4 separate regions of the Homo sapiens genome follow, and regions 1, 2 and 3 are each linked to region 4. The links are contacts of gene promoters, found by promoter capture Hi-C in blood cells and fetal thymus (Javierre and others, 2016). All regions are on one chromosome and are shown on one strand. The core of a region is centred on a gene start or on the middle of the fragment in contact, and the rest is flanking DNA. Distances in the headings are between cores, read along the strand shown.

The links. Contacts are between HindIII fragments. The CHiCAGO score rates a contact against its expected background, and 5 or more counts as called.
Region 1: a fragment that was not itself captured here is called in contact with the fragment with the promoter of ZNF516 in region 4 in 5 of 17 cell types (monocytes, M0 macrophages, neutrophils and 2 more); the score reaches 20.3 in monocytes.
Region 2: a contact is called between a fragment that was not itself captured here and the fragment with the promoter of ZNF516 in region 4, in 3 of 17 cell types (monocytes, neutrophils and M0 macrophages). The highest score is 11.1, in monocytes.
Region 3: a fragment that was not itself captured here is called in contact with the fragment with the promoter of ZNF516 in region 4 in 2 of 17 cell types (neutrophils and monocytes); the score reaches 5.8 in neutrophils.

Annotation. Positions count from the first base shown.
Region 1 is chr18:76,565,703-76,569,008 of GRCh38, forward strand. No RefSeq gene overlaps it. Among named protein-coding and RNA genes, the nearest start is that of LINC00908, 39 kb to the left of the region's middle. The HindIII fragment of the contact is 5,091 bases long and covers 1-3,306 here.
Region 2 is chr18:76,603,268-76,606,671 of GRCh38, forward strand. No RefSeq gene overlaps it. Among named protein-coding and RNA genes, the nearest start is that of LINC00683, 15 kb to the right of the region's middle. The HindIII fragment of the contact is 1,099 bases long and covers 770-1,868 here.
Region 3 is chr18:76,421,586-76,424,647 of GRCh38, forward strand. The region is part of intron 3 of ZNF516 (zinc finger protein 516); the gene reads right to left. Among named protein-coding and RNA genes, the nearest start is that of ZNF516-AS1, 69 kb to the right of the region's middle. RefSeq lists an enhancer at 1,660-2,161. The HindIII fragment of the contact is 5,680 bases long and covers 1-3,062 here.
Region 4 is chr18:76,493,851-76,497,085 of GRCh38, forward strand. It overlaps ZNF516 (zinc finger protein 516), which reads right to left and starts at 1,392. Exons shown (of 7, transcript NM_014643.4): 1 at 1,294-1,392. ZNF516-DT (ZNF516 divergent transcript) reads left to right here and starts at 1,489. Exons shown (of 2, transcript NR_164145.1): 1 at 1,489-1,936; 2 at 2,429-3,235. It overlaps ZNF516-AS1 (ZNF516 antisense RNA 1), which reads left to right. Exons shown (of 2, transcript NR_136504.1): 2 at 1-68. RefSeq lists silencers at 422-511, 1,212-1,311, 1,442-1,501. The HindIII fragment of the contact is 7,170 bases long and covers 177-3,235 here.

The sequences.
Region 1 (3,306 bases), core at 582-3,081, 72 kb after region 4:
TACCTACAAAAAGGCAAATATACGTGAGAATGCTTTTATAGCAAAATCCTTGTTTGCAAAGGTAATGATGTTCTAAAACTGGAAAAAATGCAACTCAGGCAAAAGGAAGAAACCCTAGCGTGACTTTTTCTTCCTAGCTTTTGTGGGTAGTGAAGTTTTTCTCAACATGCTATCAGATTGGTTCCATTATTTAAAAGTATTTTTAACACAGGAAAAAGTTTCGTGTTTTGTATTTCGCAATGCGATTCGATCATCTTCCGCTGTTCCAGATGGTGGCTTGCACCGTGCAATCAGGCTGGATCTTACACAAGAATCCATTCCAAACCCTGAATAAGGGCCCAAGCCCAGAGAGGGACTTGTGTATCCATTGCCACAGGAGCATTACAGAAACATGCCCCCTAGGCTTGGACACCGTGGAATTCAGGGAGCAATTCTAGCTAGGAATAGTAGGGAGATAAAGATTTGTTGTTGTTGTTGTTGTTGTTGTTTGTTTTTTTGAGACAGAGTCTCACTCTGTCACCCAGGCTGGAGTGCAGTGGCGCGATCTCGGCTCACTGCAAGCTCCGCCTCCCGGGTTCAAGTGATTCTCCTGCCTCAGCCTCCCGAGTAGCTGGGACTACAGGCGTCCACCACCAGGCCCGGCTAATTTTTTGTATTTTTAGTAGAGACGGGGTTTCACCATGTTGGCCAGGATGGCCTCAATCTCTTGACCTTGTGATCCGCCCGCCTCGGCCTCCCAAAGTGCTGGGATGACAGGCGTGAGCCCCCGCGCCCTGCCATGACGGGACTTTCTGACGTGGCGCTGTGTCTGGGCTCGCCCTTTCCTCGGATCCCACCTCTCCGGAGGACGGGGAGAGTGCTGGGTAATCCTGGGAGTTCCTAAAAGCCAGCACAGAAGGCAGGGGTTTCTTTCTCTGGGGGACTTCGGAGGAGGTGGCCACTGGTCTGAGAAAGTCTAAGTGTAGGTTGGGACTTCGGTCAACTGGGACTTAACTATGCCACTCAAACTGGTGTGCATGCAATGCCACTTCTGCTGGGTCTGAAGAGGGAGGCCCTGCACCAAGGCCACGTTCATAAGACACAGGGTGGAGAAGAGAGATGGCATCCCATGGGGAGAGCTTGTCTCCCAAAGACTGGTCCATCTGTTGAAAGAGGCTGTCCTCTCCCCTTATTTCCTGAGGAGCTGCCCAGGAGGGCTCCCTGCTTCCCTCTGGCCTTCACATTGGCCACCGGGACCAGGAGGAGCCCTCCCTCTTCCCTTCCCCTACCTGTCTCTCTCTCTCTGTCTCTCTCTCTGTATCTCTTTGTCTCTGTTTCGCTCTGTCTCTCTCTCTATGCCTCTCTCTGTCTTCCTCTTTCTGCTTCTCGTTGTCTTTCTCTTTGTTTCTGTCTTTCTGTCTTTCTCCCTCTTTCTGTCTCTCTCCCCCATTCCCCCGTCTCTCTGTCTCTCTTTCTTTGTCTCTCTCTCCTTCTCTCTGTCTCTCTCTCACTGTCTCTGTCTCTGTCTCTTTCTGTCTCTGTCTCTCCCAATCTCTTTGTCTCTCTCCCTCTCTCTGTCTCTCTCCCCACCCCCACGTCTGTCTCTTTCTCTGTCTCTTTCTCCTTCTGTCTCTCTCTCTCTCTGTCTCTCTCTCTCCCTGACGGTGTGGTGCATTCTCTGACCCTCCCCTCCCCTCCTTACCTTTATGACTGGCAGGTGGAGAGACAGCTAGTGACTCTTCTGTGGCCCATCTTGGGATGTGGCCCTGGGCAGTACTCACTGGAGGTGGACAGGACAGCACTTGCCCCTGAGGGCCCAGCAGTCGGCTCAGGTCGCCCGTGTGCATAGAGAGGTGGAAGGTCAGCTTCCACTTCTGTGTTGGTTTCCCTAGACTCTGCCACAACAGAGCATCACAGAGCGCGAGTCCTAAACAAGAGGAATTTATTCCCCCACAGGTCTAGGGAGGAGAGGTCCAAGATCAAGGACCGAAGGTGGGTTCCTCCCGAGGGCAGGGTGGGAGAATCTTTCCAGGTGCCTCTCCTAGTTTCTGGTGGCTGCTGGCACTCTTGGGCATTCCTTTGTGTGAGGAAGCATCCCCTGGTCCCTGCCTTCATCTTCACAGGGCCTTCCTCCTATGCGCATGTCTGTCCCCGTAGCCACATTTTCCCTTTCCATAAGGACACAGTCATATTGGATTAGGGCCCACCCTATTGACCGCATCTTAACTTGATCATCTGCAAAGATGCTATTTCCACAGAAGGCCACACGCACAGATATTGGGGAAATCATCCAGCCTGCAATGACTGCCAAGGTGTGCTCTGCGCCTGGCTCGCCTGGGAGGAGCTCCAGAACATGGGGCAGAGGCCACTCAGGTCGGGAACAGACAGTAACACACCCCCTGCAGATGCCCTACCGTTTGGCCTATGATCCTTGGATCAGGGCAGCGATGCGTGAAGGTGGATATTATTATGACTCTAAAACCACACTGCCGTCCTGCCCCCAGGTCCACCTCAGAGCTAAAAGGGCCCCTTGATGCAGTTCTTGGGGCACCCGTGGTGACAGCCCACTGGATGAACCCACAATGCACCCCACACTGCGCTGGGCTCGAGCATCCTTGCTGTGAGGGTCCCCCTGCCTGAGCAGATCTCACCCTGCAGATGAGAGACACGTGTCTACCACCTAGCCAGGATGTGCAGAGGGGTGGCTGGGGTCTCAGTGGAAGGGAAGGTGGCTGCTGTCTTTCCTAGGGCTGGGAGCTTTGAAAAAGGGAAAAACACTCACTCCGCTGAATGCAGCTCTTGGGGGACTGGTGGGCCAACCCACAGGATAAGAACTGCATTGCAGGGGCCGGAGCCCAGGATAAGGTTCACAGTGCATTCTGAATTTCCACCTAGCATGGGCTCCAAGCACTGCGCTTGAATTTGAAATATCAAAAGTATCGGACCTCGTGGAATTGATACATAGGTGAAGCACTTTTCTTTCTTGGTTGGCAGAGTATAAAGTTCAGTAGTATTTGCCTGCGCATGACTGTCTTTTTCAAATGAGGAGGGGAGTGGGAGGCATGGAAAGGAGATGGTTTGTTCCTAACAAACTACATTCCAGAATGTTCTCTCCAAGGTTGGAGCCCTTCCTTGGCTGGAAAGCTGTGTGACTCTCCCATACTCTGAACAGGGCCATCTTCATGGCAGGCTTGCGGCTGCAGTCTTTCCTGTGGATTTGCACCAGAGCTGTTTGTACCAGGGGCTTGTTGCAACTCATCTTGCAAGGGGAAATCCAAAACTCAGAAATGACACAGCATTTTAGAGTTGGTGGCAAGGCAGGAATAG
Region 2 (3,404 bases), core at 69-2,568, 110 kb after region 4:
TCCACTTTCACACCATCATCAAATGGAAAAATCCTAATCAAACCATTGTCACAGGAATGACGCCTGGCTGACAGGCCTTTTGTGCTAACCATTCAGAGTTAGAGAAAGTTAAAGAGAGTGTCCAGACATGGAGAATATCTTTGACCTAGATATTCGAAGAAGAAAACTAACTTATGGGCCGGGAAATTTTTGAGGACTTCAAAGGTGGTGGGTGACATGAGGAGGCACAGCGTGAGTGCCGGGGTGGCAATCCCAGGCTCTGGCCCATGCTCCTGCTCAGGAGGAGGGCTCCTGGGTCCCATTTGCTTATCTCCAAAATTGGGTTAACTAGATACGGTAATATCATTGAAGGACTTAGTTTATAAGTTTTCCAATTTATTGAACAATGCCTGTTCAATAAATGATGATGATCATGATTTCATTTGATTTAAACAATAGTTTGAGATAGGCAGGAGTGATACTAAAAATATTTAACAATCCACTGGGTATCAACCAACTAGCATGGACGAGGGATACGGTTGCAGCAGCCAGCTACACCCAGTAAATATTAACTGGTCTTGGAAATAGGTATTACTGCTGTTTTCCAAACAGAGAAACAGACACAGTTAATTGCCCCCAAATAAATTACTATGCATTTGAAATATGAGGACAGCTTGAGAGATTCAGAGAGATGAAATGTCTTTTACTGCCCTGCGCGTTGGGCGTTTGGGTTGGAATACTGCATAGAATATCTTCTGCTTCCAATGCACCTATCTTCTAATCTTTTAAAAGCTTCAGTGTGAAGTCTGTTTCATAACAGGCTCTGAGAAGCAGCATCCCATTTTCAAAATGGATACGTGCCTTGTGATCTCCAGCAACATTACATAATGAAATAATATCTGACCCTCTATATTGTCACCATTGACATGATATTTCAGCAGGGTGGGACCCAGCTGCCGTTTAGATCCAGCAAGAAAGGAAATGAAAACGATGCCGATACGGGGGTTTAATAAATGCATTCCTGTCCCCGCGCTCGTCTCATGGAGAATGACCCAGAGTTAATGCATGTATTGTGCATCCATGAATGTTTCAGGATAAATATTTAAACTACAGCTTGAATCACACAGGCTGGTGTTAAATTAAAGTCATTAGCTTCAGGGACTCTATTTCGGAAATGCACCGAGTCCATAAGTCACACTGTAATTCCAGTGATTTATACTGAACATACACCTATGCCTTTTTTTATTTAAATGCACAAAATGTGCTAAGCCCCGAGGCGTTTGCACTGAGATACATTTCCCATGTATGATATGCATGCCCTGCTACATAAGAATTAACTGCCCTCTTCCCAGCTACGTTATGGTGTTACTGATGGGACAGGCTGTGATATTCCTGTGTAATTTCCATTCATATTGTATTAAAATGTCCAAGATGCATTTTATGTCAAAGAAAGCATCATTTAATAAAATTATTCACTATTACCCCATATAGAGATGTCAGACATTACTAATATAATCCTGAAATGATTGCACAGAAGTATCTTTAGGCTGAGAGGCACAGTCCCTGTGCTGTAGTAGAAGTGGTTTGTTCACTCTATCCTCAGGTAACCGGTCCGAGTCTTGTTTGTTTTTACTCCATGTTTATATGGTGTCATCCCCACTGACAGACTTCTTTTTCCCTTATTTTCTCCTCTTAGTGATTCCACAGGCATAGAAATTGAAAAACATAACAAACAAGATGCCTTATTTCCTTGATTTTGTAACACTGTGAGTAATTTTCAGCTTCGGGATGCATAGAGAGCTTGTAAAAACATGCATTCCTGGGACCCCGCCTTAATGATTCAAAGTTAGAAGATCTAAGGAGGAGCCTAGGAGTCTGCATTTTCGACAAGCTTCCCAATATCTTTTTTAAACCTATGTACTGTGTAGGTCATGCTTTAAGAAGTATTGCTAAGTACATTAACACTACTTTCATAACTAGATTCAGTGTAAATTTCCGTTCCATTTTAAAGACGCCGCTAAGTCAAACAAGTCATATGAGTTTCACTGTCTTCTAATCTGTCACTGTTCAGCCTTCCCTCCTGCCCTTCATCATCTACCTATTCTTCCAGTCATCCGTCCATCAATCCATCCATCCATCCATCCATCCATCCATCCATCCATCCCTTGATCCGTCTATCTATTCTTCTATCCATCCATCCATTCACCTGTTCTACTATACATTCATCCATCCATCTATTCTTCTATTAATCCATCCATCAGTCTAGTCTATCCATCCATTCATCCATCCATCCATCCCTCCTTCTATCCATCCACCCATCCATCTATTCTTCTGTTTATCATCCATCAATCTATTACTCTATCGATCCATCTATTCTATCCATCCACCCATTCACCTATTCTACTATACATTCATCCATCCATCCATCCATTCTTCTATTAATCTATCCATCAATCTAGTCCATCCATCCATCCATCCATTCCACCTTCTATCCATTCACTCATCCATCCATCCATTCTTCTATTTATCATTCATCAATCTATTACTCTATCAATCCATCTATTCTATCCGTCCATCCATCCATTCATCTATTCTCCTATCCATCCATTCATTCATTATCCTTGTAATCATCCATTCATCTTGTCGTCCATTCCTACTGTAACCATTTCTGAAGTATTAGGATTCGGAGATTCTTGTCTTAAAGGGACTAAAAAACTTAAGAAGAGTTTATAATTAGCCATCTTGTTTTCTCCTTTTATCTATTACTAAAAATCTAAACAATGCTCTGCTTTAAACAGACAACAACATAAAAGTAAAACAAAATCAAAATTGTTGTCCACTTTACTTGAACTGCTTCCTATTACTTACATCCATGATGTCACTAACCATTAAAACTGAAGAGTTGTATTGAACTGTAATGAATCTAAGATCTTTATCCAAGTTACATGGCCTGAATGTGTGTGTCCTCTCAAAAATCACATGTTGAAACCTGATCTCCAATGCAATAGTATTACGAGGTGGGACCTTTGGGAGGTGATTAGCTTATGAGGGCTCTGCCCTGGCTAATGGGATTGCAGCCCCCTAAAAGAGGCCTGAGGGAGCTTGTTCGTCCCTTCTGCCATGTGAGGATACATGGAAGGCTTCATCTGTGAGGAACGGGCCCTCACCAGACACCCAGTGTGCTGGTCTCTTGATCGTGGACTCCTCAGCCTCCCCGAAACTGTGAGGAATATATATCCATTGTTCATAAATTACCCAGTATAAAGTATTTTGTTATAGCAGGCAAACAAACTGAGACACCAAGACCCTTTTTCTCTCTCTCTCTCTGACACACACACACACACACACACACACACACACACCTGTGTAGCTATGGACATACTGACCCTAGTAAAAATCACCAACTATTTGACTTTGGTCCATTG
Region 3 (3,062 bases), core at 211-2,710, 72 kb before region 4:
GAAATGGGGCATAAGAATTCCACACTAAGTTCCTGGAGTCTTTTCAAAACATCCAAGCCACAGGGAGCAGGTCCTATGGGTGAACAACATCCCAAAATAAACCTCATGTTTCACTATTACAGAGGGCACTACTTTACACTAAGTATCACCTATGTTTTGCCAACACCTCACATTTCTTTGATTTTACCTACAGTAAGAAAGTGTACAAAGTGCCACAACATAAGTATTTTCAAAGCAAAGACAAGTTTCTGAAAAAGTTTCCACAGATCTGAATCACACAGCGGGCCGGGTCTGGTGCCCAAGTCATCAGGAATTTCTCTGCCTCACACATGGATCAAACTGTATGACTCTGGCCATTTTAAGGCAAGTGTTTTGTTTTGTTTTGTTTTTTGTTTTTAATCTTAGAAATTAAATAATGCACCAGACTACCAGTGAGTATTATCGTTATTTTAAATATCTCCATGGCTACATGAGCAAGTGAAGGTAAATCCCAGAAAAATTCAGCCAGGGTATCTATGCTAGTATCACCCAATTGGAATTTGGTAGAGTTGCCTAGAATTCAGGAAGACACTACCATCAGCTAGAGATGTGGAGGACAAGCACTAAATAAGACACAGTAAACTGTTCCTGGAAAGGGCCCTGACCCAGCAAACCAGGAGACAGCTCCTGCCACAGCCACGCAGAAGAGCCTGCGGAGAGCGGGCCGGTCCCTCGGCACTCCCTGCACTGCGGCAGTAAGAAGCAGACCACGGTCTCCAGGGGCCTGACGGATGATGACCATGTACTCATACACTCAGGCTATGGAGCAGAGCTGCACCTGCAAACACGTGACTGCCCTAACTTTCCGGAAGCTAAATGTAGGATTCAGAAATATAGGTCAAAAGACAGTTAAAACAACAAGCACAACCTCAGAATTAAATCGACTAATTATGAGGCAGTTCTAAGGCTATAAGAGAAGTAGGACTCTGTATTTATGGAGAGATAGAGAATTAAAAGATACCCAGAAACCACCACTTAAACAGAAAGGGGTTATGAAGCAGACATACCCTAGCACAGAGCAAATAAATGGAGGGCTCCAGCCAAGGGGCAAGAAGCAGGGACGGGATGATGGGGGGCAGACATGGGGCACTGGGGAGGCATGGGAGGAGAAGATATGAATTCCATATATCTGGAGGATAGGACAAGCAGAAACTGCATATATTGTGGGCAGAACAGGTTAGAAAGAAATCTCCAATCGTAAACAATGACAAACTGGAATAGATAAGAAAAACCACCTAAATTAATTCTCCTCCATACAAATCCTTAAGAAAAGCAAAGATAATTTATTTCTGTCACCGGTTCATTTTTACCTGATAAAGGAAGACAAGATGTACTCTCAATATCACACTGAGCTCCGCAACTCTAAATCTTAATGCGTCTGGCCACCTGGAGTTTGCATGGAGACCCTGGGCTGTGCACACCGCAGGACTCTCACCTGGAACACTCGGAGACCCCAGGATTCAAGCACTCTGCAGCTGGCAGCACAATCTAACAGAGACCCATTAAAACGGATGTCCACAACACAATTTACACGCATTCTTTACAAGGGAAGGGATGCATATATGTTCCCAAAAGGAAAACAGCCACAAGTTTTACAAGCTAGGAAAGGAAAAGCTGCACAGATCAAATGCTAGGGTTCATGAAGTTCCTGTGTGGAGAGAAACAACACAAAGCCCTTCTTGCGTGTTCTCGTTAATAAGTCCGCAATGTGAACTGACAGTACCTTGCCTCAAACACCATTTAAGCAACAAGACGTGACAAAACATATGCTGGCAGGAGATAAGGCTCATCCCTGAAACACACGCAGGTGAAAAGGTTCCTCCTGAAACACACACATGCAGGCGAAAAGGTTCCCCCCTGAAACACACACATGCCAGTGAAAAGGTTCCCCCGAAACACACGCAGGTGAAAAGGCTTCCCCGAAACACACGCAGGTGAAAAGGCTCCCCCGAAACACACACAGGTAAAAAGGCTTCACCCCTGAAACACCCACACGCAGGTGAAAGGGTCCCCCCGAAACACACGCAGGTGAAAAGGCTCCCTCCTGAAACATACACACGCAGGTGAAAAGGCTCCCCCGAAACACACGCAGGTGAAAAGGCTCCCTCCTGAAACATACACACGCAGGTGAAAAGGCTCCCCCGAAACACACGCAGGTGAAAAGGTTCCCCCATGAAACACACGCAGGTGAAAAGGTTCCCCCATGAAACACATGCAGGTGAAAAGGCTCCCCCAAAACACACACGCAGGTGAAAAGGTTCCCCCGAAACACACGCAGGTGAAAAGGCTCCCTCCTGAAACACACATGCAGGTGAAAAGGCTCCCCCGAAACACACGCAGGTGAAAAGGCTCCCCCGAAACACACACAGGTAAAAAGGCTTCACCCCTGAAACACCCACACGCAGGTGAAAGGGTCCCCCCCGAAACACACGCAGGTGAAAAGGCTCCCTCCTGAAACATACACACGCAGGTGAAAAGGCTCCCCCGAAACACACGCAGGTGAAAAGTTTCCCCCATGAAACACACGCAGGTGAAAAGGTTACCCCATGAAACACATGCAGGTGAAAAGGCTCCCCCGAAACACACACTCAGGTGAAAAGGTTCCCCCGAAACACACGCACGTGAAAAGGCTCCCTCCTGAAACACACATGCAGGTGAAAAGGCTCCCCCGAAACACATGCAGGTGAAAAGGCTCCCCCGAAACACACACAGGTAAAAAGGCTTCACCCCTGAAACACCCACACGCAGGTGAAAGGGTCCCCCCCGAAACACACGCAGGTGAAAAGGCTCCCTCCTGAAACATACACACGCAGGTGAAAAGGCTCCCTCGAGACACACGCAGGTGAAAAGGTTCCCACATGAAACACACGCAGGTGAAAAGGTTCCCCCATGAAACACATGCAGGTGAAAAGGCTCCCCCCGAAACACACACGCAGGTGAAAAGGTTCCCCCGAAACACACGCAGGTGAAAAGGCTCCCCCGAAACACACGCAGGTGAAAAGGCTCCCCCGAAACACACGCAG
Region 4 (3,235 bases), core at 142-2,641:
CAATGCAGCAGCAAATGGCTTTTTGTGCATCTGGATTAAATAAAGCACAGAATGAATATATTTAAAAAGAGGGCTGCGCAAGTTGATCTTTGCACACCCGGAGACCCGGTGACTCTTTATCAGCGGAATGAGTAAGACACACACACAGCCCCCAGAGCTCCCGGTCTGCTGCGGGAAGCTTATTAACGCTGATAATAGATGAGGCTGACTTACAGACCCACATTTTTCGGGTAAAAGGCTGGTTCCCTCTGGTCCCTAATTGCGGGGGTCCACTGGCTTTCCTCACCACACACATAAACTGCTGCTTTTAAATACCCCACTCGGCTGCCATTTAACAAACTTATTCATACAAAGTTTCGTTAAAACTTGAGGCGGTTTAATCTAAATACTGATCGTAACTATTCAGTCTGTTAGTTCTCCCTGGAAATGGCAGCGGAGGCGCCTCCCCCCACCTCCCGCCCAACCACACACACCCCACCGCATTCTTCCTTCATACACCCGGGTTCATCTCGCCACCGAGGCCTCCCCCACCCGCACCCGGCGGGGCGCAGCTCCGAGGAGTCCCTGCCCACCCCTCTCCGAGTCGGTGCCAGACCCTCGCCCCCACCCCCACCCCCGCCCGAACTTCCCTTCCAGGACCTCTCACTTCTTTAACGTTAGGGTCACTTAGAAGCTCCCAGCAGACTGGCAAGCAGCCGGGGAGGGGGCCGTAAAAAACAAGGCCACCCCCACCTCCACGCAAACACGTCCCCTAGGCAGCAGCGCGCGGTGCCCACAGGCATCGATCCCATCCGCCAAACCCTTAATAATTGAAGCGGCTCCTCGGGCCCGCAGCCCCATCACCCACCTTCATTAGCCGGAGCGTTTTACTTTAAAGTAAGGCAATTTGCTCTTTGTCTCCTAATGGATGGAGAGCGCATCCGAGCTCCCCTCCTCCCGCGTCGCCTTTGACAAAGTGTACAAAGCCAGAGCCTCTTCCGCGCTCCCACCCCGGCCCCCACCCCGCCCCTCCACTGCGGTAAAAACCACCTCCCGGGCGCTCGCCCCGCCGCCCGAAGTTGCATCTTCCCCTATCCTGGAATTGACGAGCAGAGCAACTACCCACCGGGAAAGCCAAGTAGCCCTCCCCGCGCCCGGGGGGCCCCTCCCCGGCGCACCCCCCTCCCCAGCGCCTCCCCCCCTACCCCCAGCGGCGCACACCAGAGTACGGGGCACGTCGGGGCTCCGGGCCCCGCGCCCACCGCCCGCCCGCGGCCCCTGCGGCGCAGCCCTCCCCCCGCCCGCGGCCCCTACCTTGGCAGGGAGGCGGCGGGCCTGGGGAGGAGGACGCGCACGCCCCGCGCATCTGAAGGTGAAGCCGAGCGCCCGCGGCGCGGAGCCGAGCGCTGCACTAGACCGACCGCGCCAGCTGCGCCCGGGCGCGGGGGACGCGCGAGGGCGCGCGGGGCCCGCCACGCGCCCGGCCCCCTCCTCGCGCCGCCCGCGCGCGCCCCGGACGCGTCCGCCCCGCGGGGGCCCCGGCGCGAGCCGGGCTCGGGGGGCTGCGCGGCACGGGGAGGGGGCCGGGCGCTCACGGCCCGGCGCAGGCCGGAGGCTTCCCCCAGCCTGGAAATGGTCTGCCCTGTAGGAAACGCACACTCCACTATTGTCTCATCAGCACAAAGTTCTGCCACACTGAGGGGACAGTCTGGAGGCTTGCAGTGACTCAGACACAGCCAATTCCTCCCCTAATAGCACTGAATCACGGTTCCAGCGGCCAGTGGTCGCCCCTCGTCAAGGTCTAAGGCTGCTGCAGCCCCGGCTCCCGGAGGCCGTTTCCGCGCGCACACGCGCATCCATACGTACAGACGTGCTCGGGATGCGGGTCCCGCCGGCGGGTACCTGGGCACTGCGCCCCATCTGGACTGAAATGGGGACACCCCTTCGGGGGTCCCAGGTGCGTGTGCATTACACACGGCGTAGCGTGTGCGTGTCACTCAACTTCCTGGTAAATGCCTCTGGGGGTGTTCAGATGCAGGATCAATACATTAAGTCCTGAATCAAGGGTCACAGAGGTCCCGCTGGAAAGACTTCAAACAGCGGCTCTGCCACCCGGCCATTTAAAAATGAAGGGGTTGTTTACCGGTAGCCTCGAAAGTTCAACTCTTATTTTTCTGTTCTTAAAACTTCATTTCTTCACCTCACCTACTCCCCACGAGCAGTAGTTAGTTGTAATAAGTTGAGTCTGGGACTAGAAATCCTAATTTGACTCCAAAACGCTCTCCTGTTACAGGGCAGGGATGGCCGGGGTGGGGGAGGGGAGGGCGGGCGCGCGGGGGCGGGGGAGGGGCGGGTCGGAGCTAGCGAGGGCGAGCGCCCCTTCACGGCCGGTGACGTAGACCCGGGGAGCTGCGGCCTGCGGAGGGGTAACACTATCTTCTCCCACCAGGCTCCTGGCCGTATTGTTCTCCTTCTCCTCGTGATAACTCCGCAGTGGAGGTGGATTCCGTCCAAGACGCCCAACGTGGCTCCGCGTAGCAATCAGCGCTGCAATCCTGGCGGTTACCTCAGCGGCGGCGTCTCTCTCTGCGCCTCACACTCGCAGCCCGCGGCCCTCCCCAACTTAGGGCGTTTACAAAAGAAACTACTCCAGACGCGCTGCAAAGGGAGGCGCATGTGCCCGAAAGCTGGCGATCAGACGGGGGGGGCATTCTGCATGTGTGATGTTTCTGGGGGCGGTGGGGAGTGTGTGTCGGGGTCGGGGGGCGGGGGGGAGTCAGGCAGAAAGACAGGGACAACCTCCGCTATGAAGGATCCGCGAGTCCTCAAATGTAAGCTCCGTGTGACTAACGACCTGCACTGATTTGGAGAGCGGGCATGTTAAAGGTCACGGACAATTGTTGCTGGCTTCAGCATGAATGCCTAAGTGGGATGTATTCTTCAGCAATCACGTTTAAGTCTGATTCACCGAAAAGTATTGACGTGCCCACCATTCATTTCAGTACACTGTGAAAATGCACAAAGAAAGTATCCCCAAATTCAGTTAATTACAAAGCCGTAAATGTCCTTGTATACACATATTATTACATACATGTAGGTAACAACAAAGATTAAAATTTGAAGACACTTTAATAGCTTTTTGGTAGGATTTTGGAATGAATATCAGTCCTGTAAACCTACGTTCATCTGCATTCTTGGGTCTATTTTAAAGTACAAACTTGCGCTAACAATTTCCATGTGTTGAAAATGGACAAGG